Linked DNA regions of Homo sapiens: regions 2 and 3 are each linked to region 1. Evidence: promoter capture Hi-C in 16 types of primary human blood cells and fetal thymus (Javierre and others, 2016). All regions are on one chromosome and are shown on one strand. The core of a region is centred on a gene start or on the middle of the fragment in contact, and the rest is flanking DNA. Distances in the headings are between cores, read along the strand shown. Region 1 holds the start of EXOC1 (exocyst complex component 1). Region 2 has its middle 13 kb from the start of SPINK2. Region 3 overlaps LOC105377665 (a long non-coding RNA gene).

Region 1 (2,747 bases), core at 93-2,592:
TAAGAAAACATTCAAATATGGTGATGACCAACTCAGTAACACATTCTTATACTGCATCTCCCTTTTTGTTTTGTCTTCTTCCTCTTCCCTCATTTTGCTCCCTGGGATCAAATTTCCAAATAAACTATTGCATATAAGTGTCACTTTGCAGGGAATCCAAGAGGAGAGAGGATAATTTAATTTTTGGACACACAAGTTTGAGGTGTCTATAAGACATCCAAGTGGAAATGTCAGGCGATGGGCAGTATATACACAAATCTTGAGGTTCAAGAAAGAGATCTAGGCTTCTGAAATGCAATTCATTTCCCAACTTTGAGGAGGGCTATAAACATACAGGTAAATAAAAGAAAGATAATAGGACCAAAAAACACATGCAATTGTCATAGAGTGTCCACAGTAAGCATTCCGGTGCCAAGCAGGAAAGGGTCTTTGTAAAGATATAACCAGATCCTGCTCTTAAAAGGGAAGTCATTTGATGAAAGTGAAAAGTATTCTAACTACTGTTTGCTCATTTAAATTTCTAGCACATTTATCTGATCTGTACCTCTCTTTGGTCACTTATTTTGTGTCCTATTTTATATATATTTGTACCTACACCTTGTCTAGTCCTACCACACTGTGAACTCCTTTAGGTTAAGATTCATGCCTGAATCACCTCTGTACCTGGAATCAAAGTGCCTAGCATTAAAAAAAAAAGGTGCCAGGAATATTGAATAAATAAAACACCTACCTGCAACCAGCAACATTGGCATCATTTATGCATCCCAAACTTAAATATGCATAAGCATCATCTTGCTAAGATGCAGATTCTGATTCAGTAGATCTGAAGTGAGCCAGAGAGGCTGCATTTCCTAAAAAGCCCCCAGATGATACCCAAGCAGCTGATCCACGGACCACACTTTGAGTATCAAGGTCATGAGGACAATGGTTCTTGACCTTAGCTGCATATGAGAATCATCTGGGAAGATATTAAAAGTACTGATGTCTGGGTCCCACCCGCAGGGATTCTGATTTAACTCATTTAAGCTCTCCAAAGTTTAAGTAGCAAAGATCTAGAGTTAATAGAGCTTTACGTATGAAAAAAGAAAACATTTAATCGAATTTCTTCTTAAATGAATTGCTGCAAATATCTGAATAAATAACTCTTAATCCCCAACTCCCAAGTCAGTTTCTGTGCCACAAAGGCCCCGCCCCTGCCCTTCCCTGACACGCCCCTCCAATGAGGCCTTGTTCCGCCTGGCCACGCCCGTCGGTTGGCGCCCCGCCCCTCCGCGTCTATTGGCCGCTCCCTTTTTCTCCCATCGCTGCTTCTTCCTTCTCTACGCGGTCAACTTCCGGCGCGGAGTTTGTCACGTGCCCGGATATAGGAAGTGTTGGGGGAACGGCCGCTTCCCGTTCAACGCTTTATTGAGGGGCGTATCCTAGTGGCCCCCATCCGGTCTCCGTTTTGGAAGACCCGCCTCGGCACAGCCAGGCTCAGTCCGGCCTTGCGGTAAGCCTTCGGCCGCGGCTGCCCGGTAGTCCCGGCGGCGGCGGACAGACGAGCTGACAGGCACCAGGGTCTAAGGCGGCTCCTCAGTCCGGCTGCTGTCTCCACGCCTGGGGTCGGGCACCGCTCCTTCTGACCTTCCTTTCCCCGTTTGTCCCGGTAAGACGAAGTTTGGTCAGAGCATTCTCCAGTCCCTTGTCCTCGGGTCTAGGAGAATGCGGAGCTGGGAGGGCAGTCCTCACGGGCCCCATTACGGTTCCGCCCATCGGAACCAGATTTTGTTTGTGCAAAATGACCCTGATCGTAAGCTCTTTGGCGTGGTCCAGGAGAGGAGAGCGTGACTGTGCCTTCCTCTTTGTCCAAATTCACATCCCGGCCCCCCAACCCCAACTCCCCCCCACCCCCCGCCAAATCTCTTAAGTGTATTTCTCTATTTCCTTGCACAGTTATATCTTCTAGATGGCAATGCTTCATGCATTAATATATCTCAGCAGCATACAGGGCCCAATGCACACGGGCACTCACACTGACAGGCTATTTGTCACACAGTGTGGTGGTCCAACTGAGCTGAAGGAAACAACCAGTACAGAGTAAGCAGTGGATGGCTGCCTTTGGAACGTGGTCAGATATGGGTTCTCAGACCTGGAGAATAATTTTAGAGGACCTCTAGGGATTTATTTACTGACTTTCAGAAAAGTACCGTAAAGACTGAAGAGTTAATCACTCGACTCTTAGGATGTAAATGCCATAGAAACACCCGGCTTCAGGTCTTCATAAACATATCTGTCATGTTGACTACTGTAACCTAGAATAGTGTCTGCCACCTAATAAGCATGAGTATTTGCTGAATGAATGAAGAGTCACATACTGCTTTTCATTATGGCTAACTCCTTTATGAGGTATGCCCAATCCTGTCTTGTTTTGCCTCTTACTGTACACTCAGTTGCTTTTAGCCAGAGAAGGAGTATGTGGTAAACGTTGGTCCCTATTATTCATTTGACCAGTTTTTACTATTCAGTTCTAATTACCTTAATAGATATTTAAGTATCCACTAAACACAAAACTATGATGAACATCCCTCCCTTCTTTAAGAGAATTCTTGAGATAGAGAAGCTTATGATTTAATGAGCCCATTAGACGGCAAATGCAGTAAGTGCTGTAGAAATTTAGAGGAGAGATCACTTTGGATTAAGATCTTCATTGAATCAACTTCATGTAAACCATGAAGTGTAATTAGGGTTTGGATAGGGCGGAGATG
Region 2 (2,747 bases), core at 186-2,685, 980 kb after region 1:
AAAGATGAGGTTTCACCATGTTGGCTTGACCTCAAGTGATTCCCCTTCCTTGGCCTCCCAAAGGGCTGGAATTATAGGCATGAGCCAGTGTGCCCGGCCATAAAGGTATATAATTCAAAATATTCTGAGCATACAGATTCTCTTTTCCTTCTTTAACATCATCATGATTTAAATGAACCTGAGTAATTAATGCTGATCTAGTAAATCGTAGTGGCCTTAAGTCTAAGTATTGAGAATAGGTAATTTTAGCCGGGTGCGGTGGCTCAGGCCTGTAATCCCAGCACTTTGGGAGGCCGTAGGCAGTTAGGATCACCTGAGGTCAGAAGTTTGAGACCAGCCTGACTAACATGGAGAAATCCCATCTCTACTAAAAAAAAAATACAAAATTAGCCGGGCGTGGTGGCGCATGCCTGTAATCCCAGCTACTCAGGAGGCTAAGGCGGGAGAATTGCTTGAACCTGGGAGGAGGCAGAGATTGCAATGAGCTGAGATCTGGCCATTATTGCACTCCAGCATGGGCAACAAGAGCGAAACTCCTTCTCAAAAAAAAAAAAAAAAAAAAAAAAAAAGAATAGGTAATTTTATTATATTCTACAATGAAGGGCAATTTAAACATAATGTAATTTAATGTTTAGACATTTGTGAAACTTTCAACTAAAAGATTCCCAAGTTTCTATGAGAAAAATTAAAACAACTTTTGTCAGAGTAGGCAGTAGGCATCCCAATTATTTTACAAAATATGCTCACCATAAACAAAACAATTATATGACTTAGAATTACATGTTAATATAACCGTTCTTGCCCTGCTTTCTACAAGGTATTGTGAAATTATGTGTTCTGGGTATTTTTGACTTGTATGTGCTTCTGATTAGCTGGAAAACAGCTAGGAAAATACAGTGGTCAAAACATAGAATTTGGCTGGGTGTTCTAATCCCAGCACTTTGGGAGGCGGAGATGGGAGGATCGCTTGAGGCCAGGATTTGAGACTAACCTGGGCAACATTGTGAGAGTCCCATCTCTACAAAAAATTAAAAGACAAGCCTAATTCAATATGGTTTTCCTTACCATTCAGCTCTGTGATGTAGATAGAAACTTTACCCCTGAAGCTAACATAATTCAAATTCAATTGTGGATCAAGTTGGCAACCCAACATGTATGCTCCATATTGCCTCTGGCACCAAGTTTAAACATTTAAGAAAAATTATCCGGCCAGGCGCAGTGGCTCAAGCCTGTAATCCCAGCACTTAGGGAGGTCAACGTGGGTGGATCATGAGGTCAGGAGATCGAGACTATTCTGGCTAACACAGTGAAACCCCATCTCTACTAAAAATACAAAAAAATTAGCCGGGCGTGGTGGTGGGCACCTGTAGTCCCAGCTACTCGGGAGGCTGAGGCAGGAGAATTGCTTGAAACCACCGGAAGGCAGAAGTTGCAGTGAGCCAAGATCACGTTACTGCACTCCAGCCTGGGTGACAGAGACAGACTCCATCTCAAAAAAAAAAAAAAGAAAAATTATCCTAATGTGTCCTCCAAATATGTCCTTTTTTTTTTTTTTTGAGACAGAGTTTCGCTCTTGTTGCACAGGCTGGAGTGCAGTGACATGATCTTGGCTCACTGCAACCTCCGCCTTCCGGTGGTTTCAAGCAATTCTCCTGCCTCAGCCTCCTGAGTAGCTGGAACTACAGGCACATACCACCACGCCCAGCTAATTTTTTGTATTTTTATTAGAGATAGGGTTTCACCATGTTGGTCAGGATGGTCTCGATCTCTCGACCTTGTGATCCGCTCGCCTCGGCCTCCCAAAGTGCTGGAATTACAGGCGTGAGCCACCGCGCCCGGCCCAAATATGTCCTTTCAAAGTCATACTAGAGTACTGTCTAAAAGGCCGGCATGGAAGTTGTCTGATTGTAGAGGAAGTCATTTCATTTCATTTATTTACCATTGATAGGGTCCGGAGTCTGTAAAGTTAGATGTTAGCTTATGGAAAATAAGTGGCAAATGATTTTGTTGGGTAGAAAAGATATCTCCAGGCCAGGTGCGGTGTCTCACGCCTGTAATCCCAGCACTTTGGTAGGCCGAGGCGGGTAGATCACTTGAGGTGGATCACTTCAGGAGTTTGAGACCAGCCTGGCCAGCAGGGTGAAACCCAGTCTCTACTAAAAATACAAAAATTAGCCAGGCTTGGTGGCACATGCCTGTAATCCCAGCTACTGGGGAGACTGAGGCAGGAGAATTGCTTGAATCCAGGAGGTGGAGATTGCAGTGAGCCAAGAGCGCGCCATTGCACTCCAGCATGAACGAAGAAGCGAGACTCTTGTTTAAAAAAAGAAAGAAAGAAAAGATATCTCCAAAGGTTGCCATTTCATTGCTCTGTGAATATTAAGCAGTGTTATATTTCATATTGCAGTCTTATCCCAGCATTCTTTTTCCCACTGACTATATATTTACCAGTCTCCCCTATCTTTCTTCTTTTGCCGGTTCCCTGATGATTAGTTAAATAAGAAGGGTAAATAAGAGGCTAGCTTGCCTAGCAGATAGAGAAAGGGGTATTTCTGACTTGGGAAGATCAGCATGTGCAAAGGCGAGCGTGACTCCTTTAGAGAATTCCAAGAGACTCCATGTGGCTAAAGCAGTTCTTCTCAAACTTTGATGTCCATATGAATCACTCAGATTCAGTGAGTCTAGGGCGAGGCCCAGAATTCCACCTGTCTACAAGCTCCCAGGTTAAGCTGCTGCTGCTTGTCTTT
Region 3 (2,747 bases), core at 129-2,628, 680 kb after region 1:
TATTCACAGTCATTCACTGTGCTTGGCACAGGGAATATACCAGTAACCAGGACAGAGAATTTCACTGTCTTTAAGGAGCTTACATTCTAGCTGGGGAAATACACAAAAATAAACAAGCAGATGAAATAATTACAAATTATGTTGAAGCAAGGAAATGAAATAGAAAATAATGGTGGGAACATTTTTAAAATTAATATGGGCTGGAAAGACCTCTTTGAGTGGGTAATATTTAAGCTGAGCCCCAGAGGCTAGAAAAGAGCCAGTATGTAAACAGTGGGAAGAAATGGGCTCCACGCAGTGGGAACAGGTGTGAGAAGAGACTGAAATGGGAAAGAGCTTGACACTTTAGAGAAGAGTAGGGAGGCCAGAATGTAGACAGCAAGGGTGGAGTGGCTCAAAGTAGACTAGAGAGGGAAAAAATAACCAGAGTATGGAACACCTTATAATGCAAAGCTTGAGGATTTAAAAAAATGGTTTGGAGTGTTATGATTGGAGGTGATCAAAGGTAAAAGTCAGAAGTTCCACCAGTTCGGAGGCCACTGTAGAATCCAGAGAGATGATGATGGGCCTGGGTGGCCTGCCATGACCTTATCATGATGTCATTATGGTGGGAGTGGGTTGTTATAAAATGAGTCCAGCCCTGGTGCCTCTCTTTCATGTTCAGCCCTCCCACCATGTTATGCTATGCTGCATCAAGAAAGACTCACCAGATGCCACAGCCATGCACTTGGATGCCCCAGCCTCCAGAGCTATGAGAAATAAATTCTTTATAAATTACCCAGTCTCAGGTATTCTATTATAGCAACATAAAATGAACTAAGACAGACTTGGAAAAGAATTCATTCTATGTGATCATTATAATCTTTCCCAATAAGCAGACTCCTTGAGAAGCAAGTCATGTCAGAAAGCTGCCTGTGCCCAGTGCAGTGGCTCATGCCTGTAACCCCAGCACTTTGGGAGGCCAAAGTGGGTGGATCGCTTGAGCTCAGGAGTTTGAGACCATCCTGGGCAACATGGCAAAACCCTGTCTCTACAAAAAAATACCAAAAATTAGCCAGGCGTGGTGGCATGCGCCTGTAGTCCCAGCCACTCAAGAGGCTGAGGTGGGAGAATGGTGTGAGTTCAAGAGGCAGAAGTTGCAGTGAGTCAAGATTGCTCCACTGCACTCCAGCCTGGACGACAGAGCCAGACCCTGTCCCAAATAAAAAAGAAGGAAAGAAAGCTAAACATGAATATTTTGATATACAGTGGCACCACATTCATAGCAAGTGGGCCTAAAAGATAGGCTGTAACAATTGCAGTCTATTGGCTTAGATCCCCTCCTTTCTGCAGTTTTTGAGAAGGCACAGCCTCTATGATGCTCATTCTGTACATTCACAGTGGCCTGAATCCCCCTCTTTCAATTGACATGTTCTTTGGACTTTCGAAGACATTTCATGTAACCAGGGACTACTTTTACTGATTTAAGGGCCATCCTGCCTCTTTAAGGTGGATTTACATAACTCCTCCCTGATTGGTTTAAAGGTTGAGTTAAAACTCTCTGAGAGTAGCTTTATTTCTCCTTCCAAGTTTTGGGGGATATTTCCTGAACTTCCATACAATATTACACACATCTCTATCAAAGTAAGGTTGAAGGAGATTCCGATTCATATACGCACATGCTAGAATGAATCTTCTAGTTCCATTCCAGATAACATTCACAATCCAAAATATTTCTCTTCTAACTTTTCTTAGCATCTATGAGACTAAGTACATACAAGGAATACCCAGTAACGAGCAAAAGGGGTACTTGGGTTTACTAAATATTTTAACAGACAACTTATTCCTCAACACCTCTAGTCCCTTCCCTTGAAAATAAACACATCAGTAAAACTCCACCACTTCTATTCCCCTCTATCACACTGTCACCACCATGAAAATTAGCTGAAAGCACTCCTCAAGGATTGAGAGACGGCCAGGCCACCTATGTTTTTAAAGTCTCTTGGTATAATAAGTGATAAAAAAGAGAGGATGCCAAAAACAGGGTTACAAGAAGTGTGGTATATTTAAAAGATACCACAGTTAACAAATTAATGGACGCACCCACAGAACACAGCACACAGTTGTACTGTTCACAAGATAATTACAGCCCTTTATAAAAAGTAGCTGATAGCATGCTTCAGTAGATAGTGAGCCCTGTAATGAGACACAAGTTGTAGATGAATATATTTTTCTTTTAATCCAGTCAGTGTTTCTTTGTGACTGTGTATAGAACTTCATGTGGAGATAAAGTAAAACATTCAAGTTTGAGACTCTTCTTGAATGTAAGCTTATGTCAAATGTCGCACTGGTGGATCCACCTCCCCCACACCCCCCGCCCCCCGCCCCCGCTCCATTCTGATGGTCGTGCATTTAACTAGAAATTGATGGAAATCAGTGTTAGTAACTGAGGGCCTTAGAATATTATCAGTCTCGGCATCCTCTCCCAGCATGATTAGGGGACAAAAGCCCGTATAGAGATTGTGTCCAGGAACCTCTGGGCACAAGCTCTTTACAGATTGCCTCTGGGGTCTGAGGGGCGCCCTAACTAGATTAGAAACTGACATGTTCTACCCCAGGGCCTCCGCGAACGACAGCAGGCGAGAATCCTTGCTCTGGACACGGGGAACAGGGTCAGCATCTCGTCTCCTATCTCCACCGACCTGTCTCTGGCTTTTCTTAGTCCCCAGATGCGCCCAGAAGGTCCTGGAGAGTGGTGCGTCCCCTTG

The links. The method cuts DNA at HindIII sites, captures the fragments that hold promoters and counts their contacts. A CHiCAGO score of 5 or more calls a contact.
Region 2: a contact is called between a fragment that was not itself captured here and the fragment with the promoter of EXOC1 in region 1, in 1 of 17 cell types (fetal thymus). The highest score is 7.4, in fetal thymus.
Region 3: a contact is called between a fragment that was not itself captured here and the fragment with the promoter of EXOC1 in region 1, in 2 of 17 cell types (fetal thymus and total B cells). The highest score is 7.6, in fetal thymus.

The regions. Positions count from the first base shown.
Region 1 is chr4:55,852,306-55,855,052 of GRCh38, forward strand. EXOC1 (exocyst complex component 1) reads left to right here and starts at 1,343. Exons shown (of 19, transcript NM_001024924.2): 1 at 1,343-1,648. RefSeq lists a silencer at 1,135-1,234. The HindIII fragment of the contact is 2,625 bases long and covers 1-2,600 here.
Region 2 is chr4:56,833,442-56,836,188 of GRCh38, forward strand. No RefSeq gene overlaps it. Among named protein-coding and RNA genes, the nearest start is that of SPINK2, 13 kb to the left of the region's middle. The HindIII fragment of the contact is 4,006 bases long and covers 1-2,747 here.
Region 3 is chr4:56,527,669-56,530,415 of GRCh38, forward strand. LOC105377665 (a long non-coding RNA gene) reads right to left here. Exons shown (of 4, transcript XR_941077.1): 1 at 2,682-2,747; 2 at 708-749. Among named protein-coding and RNA genes, the nearest start is that of SPMAP2L, 1.6 kb to the right of the region's middle. The HindIII fragment of the contact is 1,855 bases long and covers 452-2,306 here.